Regions from separate parts of the Homo sapiens genome. Here all the other regions are linked to region 3. Evidence: promoter capture Hi-C in 16 types of primary human blood cells and fetal thymus (Javierre and others, 2016). All regions are on one chromosome and are shown on one strand. Each heading gives the region's core, a stretch centred on a gene start or on the middle of the fragment in contact. The rest is flanking DNA. Distances are from core to core; before and after follow the strand shown. Region 1 overlaps ABCA5 (ATP binding cassette subfamily A member 5). Region 2 overlaps ABCA10 (ATP binding cassette subfamily A member 10). Region 3 holds the start of ABCA9 (ATP binding cassette subfamily A member 9).

Region 1 (3,370 bases), core at 659-3,158, 190 kb before region 3:
TGGCAAAAGCACAATTATTAATATTCTGGTTGGTGATATTGAACCAACTTCAGGCCAGGTATGATATATAAGAGTATAGGATATGTTGAATGTGATTTATATTGTTAATTAACATAAACTTTTAGTGACAAATTCGGATTTTATATTCAATTTTTATGTATATTTTTAGAATTTTTTGTACAGCCTGATCAAATTATGATCTTTTGGGTTATCTGTAAAAATAATGTGCATGGTGAAATTTTCATAGACACATGTAGACACACGCATATACAGTATTTCTGCTTTTGTAATGCTTACATGCGTGAGTTATTTGTCTACCAACTTAATGGAAGACAGTTTTATTAGCTTCAGGAGATATGGGAGCTTGTTTTGACCTGCCATCAGCTAGTCTTTTATTATAAGCATGTCACTGACCACTTTGTGGATACTTCACAAAACTACCCTGATCCCATTTCCTGCTTCTCTCCCCTTGCTTACTTTATGCCAGCCACACTAACTCATTGCTTTCCTGGAAAATGCCAGGCATACTCTTTTCTTTGGGTTTTTGCCCAAGATGTTTTCTTTGTTTGGCTATACCTTATACCCTAGAAATACATATACTAAATTCACTTACCTCTTTGGCTCAAATGTCACCTTCCAGTGAAGCTCCCTGATCATTAGAATTACATCTTGCTTTTTCATCCAACTCTGTATTACCCTTTCTGACCAAGTCTCTGAACTCTGACTTAGCTTTATATGTCCTTCCATCATCAAACATCAAAAAGGAGTAAAACATCTGGGCGGGTGCAGTGGCTCATTCCTGTAATCCCAGCACTTTGGGAGGCTGAGGCAGGAGGATCACTTGAGCTCAGGAATTCAAGACTAGCCTGGGCAACGTAGTGAGACATCTTCCCTCCTAAAATTCAAAAAAGAAAAAAGCAATAGCCAGGCATGGTGGCACATGTTTGTAGTCTCAGTTACTTAGTGATAATAATAATAATGACAATAAAGGAGTACAAATCTGACTTGATATTAGTCTGGCTGTAGGAAGGGGTTTTAATTAATGTACTTGCCACTTCCTTCACAGTGTAAATTAAGCAAAATAATAAAAATTGGTTTGTGTTTCTATAGGTATTTTTAGGAGATTATTCTTCAGAGACAAGTGAAGATGATGATTCACTGAAGTGTATGGGTTACTGTCCTCAGATAAACCCTTTGTGGCCAGATACTACATTGCAGGAACATTTTGAAATTTATGGAGCTGTCAAAGGAATGAGTGCAAGTGACATGAAAGAAGTCATAAGTCGGTAAAATAATTGTCTTTAGATTCCTTTTGTTACTTAGAGGAAAGGTTTGCATTTCATATTTTTAAAATTTCATAACAAGCATTTCTGTGGACAATGATTTTTATAGAAAATGTTTATTACTTTTTCATATATTCTTTATGATATATGAAAATATACTGATAGCTGTAAATTATGATAGTTATAAAAAGGTCATTTTTTAATTTCTAGTTACAGGATAAATATACCTATAGATATCATGAAACTTATTTTAATTCAAAGTGAACCATTTTATCAAGATATTAATTTATTTAAAATGATGTAAATTGGAGACTTTTGCCCTTACCTACTTATAATAAGCTTCGACTAAGTAACTATTCTAGAGAAAACAACATCAGGGATCACACCCAGTTGGTATTTGTGTTTATATATATCATGGTATTCTCATTTTGTATTGTTCATTTTGCAGAATAACACATGCACTTGATTTAAAAGAACATCTTCAGAAGACTGTAAAGAAACTACCTGCAGGAATCAAACGAAAGGTACTTTCATTAAACACCAAATAATGCCTGTATTTTTATTGATAGTTTAGTACCTGATATTGTCTTGATAGATTCCTTATAGTGAACCTTTGTTAATTTCCCACCCATCTTTTTCTTTCCATGTAGTTGTGTTTTGCTCTAAGTATGCTAGGGAATCCTCAGATTACTTTGCTAGATGAACCATCTACAGGTATGGATCCCAAAGCCAAACAGCACATGTGGTGAGTATGGTACTTGTGACACAGTACATGATACTTTAGAATAGAACAGTTTCTTTTATTATAATAGTTTAATGTTAGTTATATGTACATCTTGATTTTAAATCCTATTCAAACGATACACTAGTAATTAAAAATTAAATAGATTTAGAGATTTCCTTAAGCTTTTAAAACTTTGCATATTTTTCATGAAGTGTTCATAATATTTTACATATTCCGAAACAGAAATAAGCATGAGTCATTATTAAGATAAAGAGTTCTAGTGTTCTGAATAGTTTTTAAGTTTTTTTCTAGTCATTTAGCATACAAATGATCTTTTCCATAATAATAGTGTCTTAAATTTATGTTGAGACTCTTTCTAGGACAGTCATGCATTGCCTAATGACAGAGATACATTCTGAGAAAGGTGATGTTGTCGTTGTGCAAACATAATAGAGTGTACTTATATAAATCTCTGGGTGGTTATAGCCTACTACACACCTAGACTATATGGTATAGCCTATTACTCCTAGGCTATAAATCTGTAGAGCATGTCACTGCACTGAATACTGTAGGCAGTTGTAACACAATGGTATTTGTGTATCTAGATGTATCTAAACACAGAAAAGATACATTATAAAAGTATTATAATCTTATGGAATCACTGTTGGAAATGTGTTTCATCATTGACTGAAATGTCATTATGCAGTGCCTGTAAAGTACTAATTAGTTGAACAACTCTTTTTTTTTTTTTTTTTTTGAGTCAGAGTCTTGTTCTGTTGACCAAGCTGGAGTGCAGTGGTGCCGTCTTGGCTTACTGCAACCTCTGCTTCCCAGGCTGAAGCGATTCTCCTGCCTCAGCCTTCCAAGTACCTGGGACTACAGGCAAGAGCCACCAAGCCCGGCTAATTTTTTGTATTTTTGGTAGAGACAGGGTTTCACCATGTTGGCCAGGCTGGTCCCGAACTCCAGACCTCAGGTGATCCGCCCCCTTCGGCCTCCCAAACTGCTGGGATTACAGGTGTGAGGCACAGTGCCTGGCCTTGAACAACTCTTTAAGCCTCAACTTCCATGTCTATAAAATGTAAGGTTTGGTTTGGATGCATGTTACGGTTTTCTTATGATTCAAAGCCTGTTTTGGTTATAACATGAAAAGGCATCAATTTTAAAATTTATTTGTTGTCATACTTTTAGCCCATATTAACATTTGAAATCATAGATTTTTTTTTTCCATTTGACAAGCTTTCAAAATGAAGGGAAAATAAATTAGAATATAAAAGTCATGGCCTGGCGCAGTGGCTCACGCCTGTAATCCCAGCACTTTGGGAGGCTGAGGCAGCAGACCACGAGGTCAGGAGATCGAGAC
Region 2 (3,503 bases), core at 479-2,978, 140 kb before region 3:
ATTTTATTGTTTATTCTGTTTTGTTTCCCTAGAATGTAGATCCCCACAAGGGAAGAGATATTTGCTTTTTATGACACTGATGCATCACAACAGTGTTTGGCACCTAGTAGATGCTCAATAAATTCCCAGCAAATTAAATAAATGCATATATGTGCCTTTCCATTTGAACTTTATTCAGGATGAACAAAGTGTGTTTTTCCATCTAGAGGCTACGTTGTGTATAGGAGGCTCTCAATAAATATTTGATGAAGTAAGGCAAGAATGAACTCTTTTTCTCTCTCAGCTTCAAATTAAAATTCTTTTTTAAAGTCCTTACATTTGATTAAATTTCACTTACCTTTATTTGGGTATAATACGTATTTTTAAATCTAATTTATTTATTTATTTTTTTGAGACAGGGTCTCACTGTGTCACCCAGGCTGGAGTGCAGTGGTACAATCTCAGCTCACTGCAACCTCTGCCTCCCAGACTCAAGCAATCCTCCCACCTCAGCCTCCCCAGTAGCTGGAACTACCAGCATACACCACCACACCCAGCTAATTTTGGTAATTTTGTAGATACGGGGTTTTGCCATGTTATCCAGGCTGGTCTCAAACTCCTGGCCTCAAGCCATTTAGCTGTCTTGGTCTCCCAAAGTGCTGGGATTTCAGGTGTGAGCCACTGTGCCTGGTCAATCTAAATTTTTATAAGCATCTTTCAAATCTTTATTTTTAGACCAGATTATATGTAAATGTTTTTACACTTATAATTCTTTTACTGAACCAAAACAAGCCAAGAATTGCTAATGGTATCTGTACCAATTAGACATCAGGTTTAATCTACTTATCCATTTAAAATGTAACTGCTTATTGAAGCCTATGATGGGTTAAACAGTCTGAGTCTTCAAGGCTTTTGCAGTTAGCATTGGAAATACTTATGTAAATTGGTAGTTAAATGTAGTGTAAGAAGTATAATAAGAGGATACCACAAGGTTCCATGAGAGGGTAAGTTCTAGGGTTGTCAAATTAGAAAAGGCATGGAGGAAACACCTCAAATTGCATTTAGAGGATAGGTAAGTTTATCTTGTGGAGAAGAGTCTTAAAAACAAATCATCTTAAAGAGTCTTGAAAACACATTTTGTCCACAGCCATATTGTCAACAGCATGTATGCCCAGCAACACATTTTAATTTTCTTCCTTTCTATATCCTTTCCTATTTGACAACAGTTATCCAGCCATATAGTCACCAGCATGTATGCCCAGCAACGTGAAATAGTATATCATAAGGGAAATTAAAAATTGTTTGGCAGAGCTGGTGCATAGTAGGAGTCTGTGATGTAGAAATTATTAACCAGTTTACAATAATTACCGGGAGATTTTTCCAAATGTACATGGCACAGGACAATATAGCATGTAAAGATCCCTGAGATTCTGAGGCTTGTCTCCAATTAAGCCCCTCTATAGGTGCCTGGTGATAATTTTCACTTGATAGGGAATGTACAGAATTTTGGATTGTGTCCTCTTGGGCAACTCAAGTATTGGTGATGATCTGTGACAAAATTTTCACCTTGTCAGATAAGAGAAAGAATGTGAAATTTATTTATATACCTTAATTCTTCAATTTGAAATTGTCTTCTCTATTGTGAGATCATAGCTTTTCTCTATCTGTATTTTGTAGTAAAAATATCATTTTATTTTTGCAGTGATGGTTATAGCATAGCAGATAGGCTTTTAAACTATCCTTAACACAACATATTTGTTTCTTGAACTATCGTTTGTACAAAAAATCCAAAAGCATTAGAACGACTGGTGCAAAAAATGGAGACAGACTGAAGTAGTAGTGTATGTAGGCTCTTTCACTGGTGAGATTTGCCTTTTAGGAAGCTCTCTCTGGCAGCTGCATGAAGAATGGGCTCAAAGCAGGTGGATACTAATCTGTTTGAGAGGATCAAATTAAGATGTCATTGTAATGCAGAGGGGAGAACAGATTCACGAGGTTCTTAGGAAATAGAAATTTGATTTGGTGGTTAATTATGTAGAAGTTGGGGGAAGTGAGAGGGAAAAGAGATGAGGATGGCTCACTGGTTTCCGGCTTTGGCTACTAGGGGTGAGGCACTGACCAGGACAGGCAATAACTACAGTAGTAGCAAAACAAGAATATAAAACATTAGTTTGATTTTTGATATGTTTTTAAAAATACTATAATTTCTATGAATAAAATGAATTCATTTTTGAATTTTAATTTGTTTCCCCTTCTAAAATTTTTTCTTTGTTTTTTCATAGTGTAATTTCTCTTTTTGGCTAGTTCAACTCTAGATCTGTTTACATATTTTCATCTTTGAACATTTCTTCTCTCCCACATAATATCTCTAAAACTGCAATACTATTTACATTTCTCTTGTCAAAGAATTTCTATCTATAACTTTTCCATTCTTTCCCATATATTTTTCTACATGTCATCAACATCTTTTGCTTTCATACATCAAGAAGTTTATATGTTGTGTCTCTTCTTCCTTAGCTCTTCTTTTGCTCAGCTCCATCCCCCTACATTATATTAGCTTTCAGTAACAGCTTGCAGTGAAATATTACATGTGAAAATTCTGTATTGTTTTAATTATCCTACAGTTTCTGAAAAATCTTTTAAATTTCCTCCTCTTACCACCAATAAATTCCTATTTTGTGGATATATCATTAAAACACCATCTCATTTATTTTCTTTCCTTCTTTAGATCTGCACTTGTATTCTCTACTCTAATAGATATGTCCATTTAACTGTCAAGCCATTTTTAATTGATTATACATAGAGCCCCTTCTACCTGAGAATGAAATGAACTATCTCTTGATAAAGATCCCTGTATAATTCCAGATCATAAAACGTTAAAGAATTATCTATGTATTTGGTTGAAAAAAATTTATATAAAATAAAACATGAGAAGACTTGTGGCAGAAACAATTTAATCTGTGCTTATTTAATTTTTCTAATGAATTAAAAAAATTTCCCATGCTTCCTACATCTGATCCTTTAATTTTAATTTTCTTCCTTTCTATGTCCTTTTCCTATTTGACAACAGTTGTCCAGCCTTACGTCTACCTTAACATTCTTAATATGTTCATTTTTGTGCTTTTGTTGTATTCTTAGGACTTGGAAAAAAGTTCTCTTTTATTTTACAGTGAATTATATACTCACTATTTTCAATATTTGTTTTTTTCTATATTATCAAAATAATATATCTTCATATGCTATGGCAGGATCAGCTTACACATCCCTTTTTTTAGCATCCAAATGTCTGGAAATCCAAAAAGTGAAGTTCTTGATGTTTGATATGATTCCCTACAGCTAGAACTGTATTCCCTTTCATGAGCTCTTTTATTTTTGTCAATCATAGCTGATAACTTATCGAAAGCCACAGCACTGTCTTAACTTTAATGCACCTGTAATGCTTTATTTTTAACATTATAGCCGGGCACGGTGGCTCACGCCTGTAATCCCAGCACTTTGGGAGGCCGAGGTGGGCGGATCGCCTG
Region 3 (3,281 bases), core at 419-2,918:
AGGTTCCATTGAGCCGAGATTGTGCCACTGCACTCCAGCCTGGGTGACAGAGGGAAACTCCGTCTCAAAATAAATAAATAAATAAATAAATATTAAATATTGTTTAATCTAGAAAATATTAAAAAGAAGATCAATGAGAGGGAGCTTGCTCTGTTATAGTGCCACAGAGATTACAGTGTGGTACACTGAAGGAAACATTGAAAACAGAATTTAGAACCGAAAGTCAAAATCAACTAGGTCCAGAACTCATAAGCTCTAACCTAGGTACAAAGTTCTTCTAGGAAACAAGTTACTGAAAAAAAATTTCCTAAATTATATTCTCTGTGCACAAAATGTTGGCGATGTTATTAAATGTATTGAATGTGATAATTTTGTATTTTCTGCAGAAAATCAACCAACCTATAACCTTTTCTGTAGACATATGGAAACAATCAGAAGTCTTTTTTTTTTTTTTTAAGTTTGACAGTCTCATGGATTCAGGAGTTCAGCCTACTTCCACAGACTGCTTGCTGAGCAACTTCTGGATCGCATATAATTAGAAAAAGGATAAATATAATTGAATCAATATTGAGAGAATGGGAAATGGGTAAGGAAGATTTCATTTGGTTATCATGGTCCATGAGACACAGATAAGAGGCTGATTTAAGAATTGCATGCATTTATTGTTTCCCTTTCAGCTGTATGTTCAGGAAGAAATTACAGTACTGAAGAATTTAACAGACTTACTGGCTGTAAGCAGAATGATAGTGGTCCTTTCCCCCCTCTTCTTCAGCCAAAGATGAACTCCATGAATTATAAGAATTTTGGAACAGTCTTTTCTTCTACTTACATAAGATGCTCAAAAATAGACAGAATGGCATCTATTACCAGTTAAAAATGTTTCTCTAACAATACTGGAAAGCAGGACATACTAAAATTCAGTAGTTACTGGTGGAGAAAGTAGTTTGTTTCATGGGAACCGTTGCAGAGATGACAAGCCTGGAGGCTTTGAGAGCACAGGTAATTGTTATGTGAGATTTCTCTAAAGATTCTGCTCGCTTCAGTACCATGAAAGATGAAAGATGCTACAATTAGTATGCACACAATGAAACTGAGATGCAGATGGAAACTCAGAGTTTCTTTTGTTACCCTGAAGAAAATTACATTGCTTTATTGCCGTATTTCTGGATTCAAGTTTTAAGAATCTGTTGAAGGTTTTAAATAGTTTCTAACCCAATTTGTATGTATTTACTTGTCACTTAAAATATATATATATATAACATATATATTTATGTATTTTTCACTTTGTTCTGCTCTACTCTTCTCTGGATTGGCTTCTTACTTATCTTTGTTTAAATCATTGTGTTGGGGTCAACTCTCCCATTAGGGCCTTGTATGAAAAGACCGATTGAGAAAGGCTAGATTCTCCTTGGTTTGATAGTTCCTAATGTTTTGATATGTCCAGCCAACCATCTGCAACTACAAACTCCCTGCTGAGTAACTAGCAGGAAACAAAGAAATGGAAAACAGCAAAGAAATCACCACGTGAGCAGAAGATATTTTGGCAGGCTAGCTGAACTGAGACCAGATTCTCCTGGGAAATTTGTATAAAACAGAACTATTCACAATGAATGTGAAATTAAAAGCATGATGTAGTAGTGACCCAAAAGGAATGTGAATTCTCCTCCAGAACATGCAGAGACCCATGGATGAACTGTGTTTCTAGATTTTTCCTCCAGCTTTCCTGAGAGTAAGTTAACCTCTAAAATTGTGGTTATTTTGCATATAGAAATATAACATAAGACTATAAATAGGCATGCCAGACGTTTAGGTAGAAACCATTAAAAGCAGTAAGTTATTAACGAGTCATTTTGACTTTTTAAATCATCTATTTTATTTTGTATGTCTAAATAACCAAATGAAGAACTAAGAATTTAAATTTTTACCCCGTAACTAAAACATTTTTGGACAAATAGCATACATTATCTAATAGGCTATTGAATAAATCAAAAGAAATGTCACGTTATGTTGCTTCTTTACAAGTATGAACTATTTCCAAATTTATTTGAATTACTTACTCTTCTTTGTTTGTTTTTAATTTTACTGCCAGAGGAATTGTAAGCATTGCAGGATGCATAATTTTCTGAGTTTTGAATTGTTTTTAAATGGCTTGAGAATATTTTCATCAAGAAAACTTAAGGAAAGATTTTTATTGATCTTGTTTATTATAGTAACTATTTTAAAATTTTGATCTAATTTGTTGCCCAGTGCAACAAATTAGAAAAATTTGTTCTGTGAATAACAGGAATTTTATCTGACTGGGAAATGATTGGCTTTTTATAACCAATTTATTATTTCTAAATTATACAATTTCCTATTCAGAACAATTTAAGCTAATTAGATGTTTTATATTATTACGGTGGGTAGTATATTTTTTCTCTGATATTTACACTAAGATGTTCAGTGGGGGGAAAAATCAGTCTTAACGCTCAGAGATAAATAACCACATTCATGACAATGAGATTATGTAATTGTTTTTTATTCACAAATATTTTCTGGCACACACATTAATTCACAGAAAGAAAGAACAGTAGTCACGTGGGCACAATATTTAACCCTTTCAGATACTGAGGTTTATCACCGCTTGATTTCTTAGTTGGAAATGTTGCAGTTTGGTTTCAGGCAGGATTTCCAGGCTATCACAGCCTGCTCCGATGGCATGATTATTAGGAGCTCATCTGCATCACTGGTGAATTTCTTTGGTCACTTCTGGACAGTTTTTAAACATAAGTCCATGCCCTTCTTTGTTCTGCTGATGAGGCACGTCATAAAATAAATGTCCAGCAATGTCTTCCTGTCTTGTTCTCAGGCCTCAGGCTCTCGGACTCCTTCCCCCAACCCTGCCCCCATGTTAACTTTCTATTGCTGCTGTAAAAAAAAAAAAAATGACCACAAACTTAATGGTTTAGAACAAAACAGAGTTATCATCTTACAGCTCTGGGGGTTAGAAGTGTGATGTGGTTCTCACTCGGCTAACATCAAGGGGTTGGCTAGGCTGTGTCTCTTTCTGGGGGCTGTAGGGGAGAATCTGTTTTCTTACCCTGTGTAGCTTCTAGAGGTTTCTTGCATTCTTTGGTTCATGGTCTTCCTCCTCCATCTTCAAAGCCGTAGCAGCAGAATGAACCCTTCTTCTACTGCCTCACTCTGATCTTGTCTGCCTCCCTGTTTTACTTTTTAGCACCCTTGTGATTACACTGGGTCTACCCAGATAATCCAGGATGATCTCCCTATTTCAAAGTCAG

Evidence for each region. Contacts are between HindIII fragments. The CHiCAGO score rates a contact against its expected background, and 5 or more counts as called.
Region 1: a contact is called between a fragment that was not itself captured here and the fragment with the promoter of ABCA9 in region 3, in 1 of 17 cell types (M2 macrophages). The highest score is 5.2, in M2 macrophages.
Region 2: a contact is called between a fragment that was not itself captured here and the fragment with the promoter of ABCA9 in region 3, in 1 of 17 cell types (M2 macrophages). The highest score is 5.0, in M2 macrophages.

The regions. Positions count from the first base shown.
Region 1 is chr17:69,252,231-69,255,600 of GRCh38, reverse strand. It overlaps ABCA5 (ATP binding cassette subfamily A member 5), which reads left to right. Exons shown (of 39, transcript NM_172232.4): 31 at 1-58; 32 at 1,111-1,286; 33 at 1,732-1,807; 34 at 1,934-2,028. Among named protein-coding and RNA genes, the nearest start is that of PRO1804, 19 kb to the right of the region's middle. The HindIII fragment of the contact is 567 bases long and covers 1,625-2,191 here.
Region 2 is chr17:69,202,016-69,205,518 of GRCh38, reverse strand. The region is part of intron 9 of ABCA10 (ATP binding cassette subfamily A member 10); the gene reads left to right. Among named protein-coding and RNA genes, the nearest start is that of ABCA10, 25 kb to the left of the region's middle. The HindIII fragment of the contact is 4,673 bases long and covers 1-3,503 here.
Region 3 is chr17:69,059,314-69,062,594 of GRCh38, reverse strand. ABCA9 (ATP binding cassette subfamily A member 9) reads left to right here and starts at 1,668. Exons shown (of 39, transcript NM_080283.4): 1 at 1,668-1,729. LOC124904051 (a long non-coding RNA gene) reads right to left here. Exons shown (of 2, transcript XR_007065889.1): 1 at 3,080-3,281; 2 at 2,503-2,907. The HindIII fragment of the contact is 6,703 bases long and covers 1-3,281 here.